Linked DNA regions of Homo sapiens: region 1 is linked to region 2. The links are contacts of gene promoters, found by promoter capture Hi-C in blood cells and fetal thymus (Javierre and others, 2016). All regions are on one chromosome and are shown on one strand. Each heading gives the region's core, a stretch centred on a gene start or on the middle of the fragment in contact. The rest is flanking DNA. Distances are from core to core; before and after follow the strand shown. Region 1 overlaps NHLRC2 (NHL repeat containing 2). Region 2 holds the start of TDRD1 (tudor domain containing 1).

Evidence for each region. The method cuts DNA at HindIII sites, captures the fragments that hold promoters and counts their contacts. A CHiCAGO score of 5 or more calls a contact.
Region 1: a fragment that was not itself captured here is called in contact with the fragment with the promoter of TDRD1 in region 2 in 1 of 17 cell types (neutrophils); the score reaches 6.4 in neutrophils.

Annotation. Positions count from the first base shown.
Region 1 is chr10:113,861,946-113,865,148 of GRCh38, reverse strand. All of the region lies in intron 2 of NHLRC2 (NHL repeat containing 2), which reads right to left. It overlaps LOC124902506 (a long non-coding RNA gene), which reads right to left. Exons shown (of 2, transcript XR_007062295.1): 2 at 1,509-1,864. Among named protein-coding and RNA genes, the nearest start is that of NHLRC2, 8.9 kb to the right of the region's middle. The HindIII fragment of the contact is 7,063 bases long and covers 1-3,203 here.
Region 2 is chr10:114,178,035-114,181,400 of GRCh38, reverse strand. TDRD1 (tudor domain containing 1) reads right to left here and starts at 2,048. Exons shown (of 25, transcript NM_001395205.1): 1 at 1,985-2,048. The HindIII fragment of the contact is 8,256 bases long and covers 1-2,506 here.

The DNA.
Region 1 (3,203 bases), core at 424-2,923, 320 kb after region 2:
TGAAACCCTGTCTCTACTAAAAATACAAAAAATTAGCTGGGCGTGGTGAGGAGCGCCTGTAGTCCCAGCTACTCGGGAGGCTGAGGTAGGAGAATCGCTTGAACCCGGGAGGCGGAGCTTGCAGTGAGCTGAGATGGCGCCATTGCACTCCAGCCTGGGCGACAGAGCAAGACTCTGTCTCAAAAAAAAAAAACCAAAAAACCTCTGATTTGTAGCATTTGTTGATTTCCATGGTCTAAATACTCCCACTATGGCTGATTTCAAGATTACCACTGGCTCATAAAATTTCTTACATATTTAACAAATGGCTCTCACCAGCCTACAGGAGCCAGCTCCAACAAACCACTGAGTGTAACCCTCCCAGTGGTGCACAATTCTGACCTTGTAAGGTTCATTTTTAAAATAGTTGTTAAAAACCCATTTTTGTGTGTGTGTGTGGTTTTTTTTTTTTTTTAGACGGAGTCTTGCTCTGTCGAAAGGCTAGAGTTCAGTGGCGCAATCTCAGCTCACTGCAATCTCTGCCTCGTGGGTTCAAGCGATTCTCTTGCCTCAGCCTCCCTAGTAGTTGGGATTACAGGGGCGCGCCACCACACCCAGCAATTTTTGTATTTCTAGTAGAGACAGGGTTTCACCATGTTGGCCAGGATGGTCTCCATCTCTTGACCTCATGATCCGCCTGCCTTGGCCTCCCAAAGTGCTGGGATTATAGGCGTGAGACACCACGCCTGGCTCATTTTTGTGTTCTTATAGTTTCTTCCATAAGATTTACTATTTTAACCGTTTGTTAAGTGTACAGTTCAAGGTATTTAGGACATTCCTATTGCTGTGCGACCATTGCCATCCTCCATCTCCGGAACTCATTTCATCTCGCAAAACTGAAAATGTACCCATTAAACAATAGCTCCACATTCTCCCCTCTTGCTAGTCACTAGCAACCACCATTTTACTTTCTGTCTCTATGATTCAGATTACTCTAAGTACCCTGTGTAAGTGAAATTATGTAGTATTTGAATTTTTGTAAGTGGCATAAATTGTGAATTTTTTTTCACCTAACATAATGTCCTCAAAGTTCATCCATGTTAGAATTTCCTTCCAAGGTTGAATAACATTCCACTGTATGCACACACCACATTTTCCTCACCCACGATCCATCAATGGACACTTAGGTTGTTTCTAAATCTTGGCTATTGAGAATAATGCTACCAGATATAGGTCTATTCAGGTTTTCTATTTCTTCATAGTTTAGTCTTAGTAGGTTTTGTTTTCAGAAATTTGTCTACTTCATCTAGGTTATCCAATTTGTTAATGTACAATTGCTCATAGTACTCTTATAATCCTTTTTATTTCTGTAGAATCAGTAGTAATGTTCCCATTTTCATTCCTGATTTTAATAATTTGAGTCTTCTTTTTTCTTAGTCTAGCTAGCTAAAGGTCTAGGAATTTTTCTGGTACTTTTAGAGAACCAACTTTTGGTTGGTTGTACCCAAATTGATCTTTTCTATTATCTATTTTGTTTCTCCCTGCTTGAATCTTTATTTCCTTCCTTCGGTTAGCTTTGGGTTTACTGTGTTTTTCTTTTTCTAGATTCTTAAGGTGTAAAATTCTAAGATATTACACCTTAGATTTAAGTTATTTCTTGTTTTTTAATATAAGCATTTATAACCATAAATTTCTTCCTTAGCCCTGTTTTCACCATGTGCCATAAGTTTTGTTACATTGTGTTTTCATTCGTCTCTAAGTATTTTCTAATAATTACCTATGTGTTTTCTTCTTTGGTCCACTGGTTATTTAAGAGTGTGCTGTTTGATTTCCACAAATTTGTGAATTTTCCAATTTTCCTTTGGTTATTGTTTTCTAACTTCATCTGTGATCAGAAAAGATACTTTAATATTTATCTTTAAAAAAAATCTATTGAAATTAACTTGTGGCATAACTAATGGTCTATCCTGGAAAATGTCCCATACGCAATCCTGTTGTTGTTGGGTAGTGTTATCTTGTTGGGGAGAGTGTCCTGTATATATTGGGTATAATTCTCCAACTACTATTGTAGAATTGTCTATTTCTCCCCTCAATTCTGTCAATTTTTGTTCATATATTTTGTCTGTTATTAAGTGCCTGTTTATAATCATTTTATCATTATAATCATATCATCTATGTATTAATTTATTTTTTAATAAATGAGGTCTTGCTATGTTACTCAGGCTGGTCTCCAACTCCTGGCCTCAAGTGATCTTCCTGCCTCAGCCTCCTGAGTAGCTGGGATTACAGGTGAAATCTGTGCTCAGCTTGGGCTTTTTATTAGTATATAATGTCCTTCTTTGTCTCTTGTAACCTTTTTAGATCTAAAGTCCATTTTGTCTGATACTAGCATAGCCATCCCAGCTCTCTTTTAGTTACAATTTGCATACAATATCCTTTTCCATCCTTTCAATTTTAACCTGTTTGTATCTTTGGATCTAAAGTGAGTCTCTTGAAGACAACATATAGTTGGAATATGTTATTTATTCATTCTGCCAATTTCTGCCTTTCAATTAGAAGACTTAATCCATTTACATTTAAAGTAATTATTGACAAAGAGGGACTTATCTGTCATTTGGCTATTTGTTTTCTACATGCCTTAGAGCTTTTTTGTCCCTCATTTTCTACATTACTGTTTTTTTTTTTGTTTAGTTGATTTTTATTTTGTAGTGAAACATTTAAATTCTTTTCTTATTTCATTTTGTGTATATTCTTTCTTTCTTTTTTTTTGTGGTAACCAGAGGAATTACATTTAACATCTTAAAGTTATTACGCTCTAATTTGAATTTATGCCAGCTTCAATAACACACAAAAACTCTGCTCCTTTAACACCTCCATCCCATCCCTTTCAGTTGTTGATGGCCCCAAATTACATCTTTGTACATTATATCTCCAAATATATAAACTAATAATTACTTTAATGCATTAGTTTCTTAAATTACATAGAAAATAGGCCGGGCTCGGTGGCTCATGGCGTTAATCCCATACAGCAGTTTGAGAGGCTGAGATGGGCGAATCATGTGAGGTCAGGAGTTCAAGACTAGCCTGGCCAACATAGTAAAACCTGTCTCTACTAAAAAAAATACAAAAAGTAGCTGGGCGTGGTCGCAGGCACCTGTAATCCCAGCTACTTGGGAGGCTGAGGCAGGACAATTGCTTGAGCCTGGGAGGCAGAGGTTGCAGTA
Region 2 (3,366 bases), core at 799-3,298:
CAGATTATTGCTGCACAGGCCCTGAAGCCACATCGGCTAACCTCACCCAGTTTTAAAATAATTCCCCCTATATACAATCTACTATTTTTTCATGCTACTAGTGATAAATAGAAATATATTTAATCATTCTGGAATCCACAGTAATTAAATGTTGATTCAGCTAACATAAAAGGTTAACTAGAAGGGTCTCAACATTTCTCTACGTTAAAGAGTACCTCATTTTCTCAGAATTAGGAATCACTGATGTACTAGAAGAGTAGTGGACTGAAAGTGACTCATTTCTATAGTTCTACAGGCAAAAATGAGGGCTCAGCTTTCTGGATTTCTTTGTTCTGTACTTCACGCTTTGAACCCATTAAGTCCTGAAGCTCCCTAAGGGTAGACCCTCTCTTTTCTTTGGAATCCTATCGGTTCTCCCTGATGTTGCTGGGGGCTTCCTAAGATACACTATGAATAGTGGGGTAAGTCATTTCTTCTCCCTCTAGGATACCACAGGCTGGAGTTCTTTTAACAACAAAAGTGTATGCACAGATACTCAGCTGTCATTTTTTTCCTTCTCTGATGTTTGCTTTTGTCTTCCTGGCAACCCCATGTATTCTGCAAGAACCATTCTACTCAAAGAAAACACTCCGGTTTTGGCTGGGCGCTGTGGCTCACGCCTGTAATCCCAGCACTTTGGAGGCCGAGGTGGGCGGATCACCTGAGGTGAGGAGTTGGAGACCAGCCTGGCCAACATGGTGAAACCCTGTCTCTACTAAAAATACAAAAATTAGCAGGGCGCCGGTGGCTGGCCTGTAATCCCAGCTACTAGGAAGGCTGAGGCTGGAGAATCGCTTGAACCCGGGAGGCGGAGGTTGCAGTGAGCTGGGATCGCGCCATTGCACTCCAGCCTGGGCAACAAGAGTGAAACTCTTACTCAAAGAACAAACAAAAACACTCCGGTTTTAAACAGACAAAACGCAACGCTTCGGTAAAGCATGAGCTCTTAAGTCAGCCAGGTAAGTCTCGTCTTCCTCATTTAGCCACGCTATCTTGGGCAAATCACTTCATCTTTCTAGGATTCAGCGACTGTAAAATGCAGAGGGCAGTAGTTAACTTCCTCACAAATCCTAATCACGAGAATTAAATGAGAGACGAAGTAAATCACTTAGCACAGTGGCTAGTACTTCCTAAGGGCTTAAAGGGCAGCTATTATTTCTGCTTTACTTTTATACCACTCCTACAAGCACAAAATTTCTTCCATTCCTGTGGAACCAGCTTGCAGGCTTAAGATGAAAATAATTTGAGGACTAAAGTATTTTTATTTCGTTATTCCTACAGATAAACAAGGGAGACGTGGGAAGTTGGAATAACTTACCAAACCACCCAGGGCCAGCACCTTACACAGTTTAGATAAAAACGCAGGTCAGACTCCACGGCCTTGGATTTAAGCATACAGCACCGTGCTGCCTCACTAAGGAAGCTGGAAGCATTTAGCTCCCTTAGTTCAGAAGCCCAGCAGGGCTAACGTATTTATAGCAAGGACCCTAGGGCCCGGAAAAGCTACTGGCACACAGCAGGAACTCCTTAAACAAACTAGCGCCAGCTGACCCACATCTAAGTAAATGCCCTAGCACATCTTCCTTTCCTATAGGAGGAAAGTAGGGAAAAAAAAGTCTAGTAAATGTTAATATTGTTTGTATCGTAATTTTTAGTCAAACGAAGGCACTGAATCCACATGCAAGTTTCTCTTAGAGAGAAGGTGAACGTTTGCATTTGAAGGAGTGATGCCTGGAAGCGCTATTTCCAAACTCAGAGAATCCTCCCACACCAAACCCTCGCAGCAAGGTTCCAAGTCTCCTCTCTCCACTTCCAGGCCCCTTGTACCCGCTCAACGCCCAACCTCAACGTCCAGCGCCCAACGTCTGGCCCCCAACGACCGAAGCCCCCTCCCTTCCCCTTCATGCAGGCCCTCTCCCTCCCCTATACGCCTGGGAACCCTGACCTGGAAAGAGGCAAGAGGACCGCGGATCCGAACCTGTCTCTGCGGTCTGGCGGTGATGGCGACTGCCGATGCTGGGAGCCCTGCCGCCTGGGATGCGCCCTGCACTTCCCTCGCCTCCAATCCCCAGTGCGCCCTCCTGGCCTCAGCGCACGCCTGCGCACTCCGCGTCCACGTGCAACTCAATGTGCCCACGTGTTCCCTCCGCCTTCCCCGGAAGCAGCTTGTGCTCTAGTTACAGGCTCAAAAAGTTCCTTTGCAGAAACTTTTATTTTGTTCTAGCTTCTTCTAGAAAGATGTCTCTGGCAACGCCTTTGGCAAATTTGGGCGCAAAGATGCAGACTTTGTCTCCTCGAAGGTCACTTGGGTCACCGTGGCCACTTAAAGGTCTTCCAAGGTTTTCCAAATAATCAACAGCCTCTGCCTGGTCTTGGAAAGTAAACACACACGTGCTCATACTTTTTTTCTTTGCTTCCTGACTGAGGGCATGTGATTATACCTGTTGGTGTTACTTAAAGACAAGCTTTTTAAGTTTTGTTTTTTTTTTTTTTTGCTATGGAACTTTTCTAACAATTTCATAAGGGAACCCTTGTGTGCCTATCATCTAGTTTCTACCTTATCAATTCATGGTTAATCTTGTCTACATCTGCAGCCCAGGCACTCTTCGGGCAATGTTTTGAAGCAAATCCGAGAATTGTAAATGTGAGACAAAGTAGCGAACGTCTGCTTCTGGCCCCCAGCATAGTCCTCCCTCACTGTGAAAAAGCCACGTTTGTTCACTGTGTTTGTCAGCATTTCAGACCCCTTGACTTAGTAACATCTCAGCCCTCCAGAAGAATGCCTTGAAGACTGCGGAGAGAACTCAGGTTCCCACCTCTCAGAGTCACTGCATTTTTAGAAAAGATACTTTCAGAGATCTAGGCCTTGCCTTTTTCTGTACCTAACGGACAAGATTAATGATGATGCCTAGACTTACTCTCGCACCCAAACTTTGAAAATATTTTGATCTTATATAGCTTCTGGGCACTTTTAATGTAACCCCTGGGCAGAACCTCTACCACCTAATATTTAAAGTGTGCTGACCCACTGCTTTGGAGTAGTTTAACAGAAATTCTCTGGGCTCTCCCTGGTTGCAGTCCTCAGTAAGACTCTGAATAAAACTAACTTCACTAACTTCAATTCTTTAAAAGCCTGATTTTTTTTCTTTAGTTGATGTGTCTTTTAAATTTATTTTTTAGAGCAGTTTCAGATTTACAGAATAGTGAAATGAAAGTGCTGACTGGGCGTGGGGGCTCATGCCTGTAATCCCAGCACTTTGGGAGGCCGAGGCAGGCAGATCACTTGAGGTCTGGAGTTCGAGACCAGCCTGGCCAACATGGTGAAAC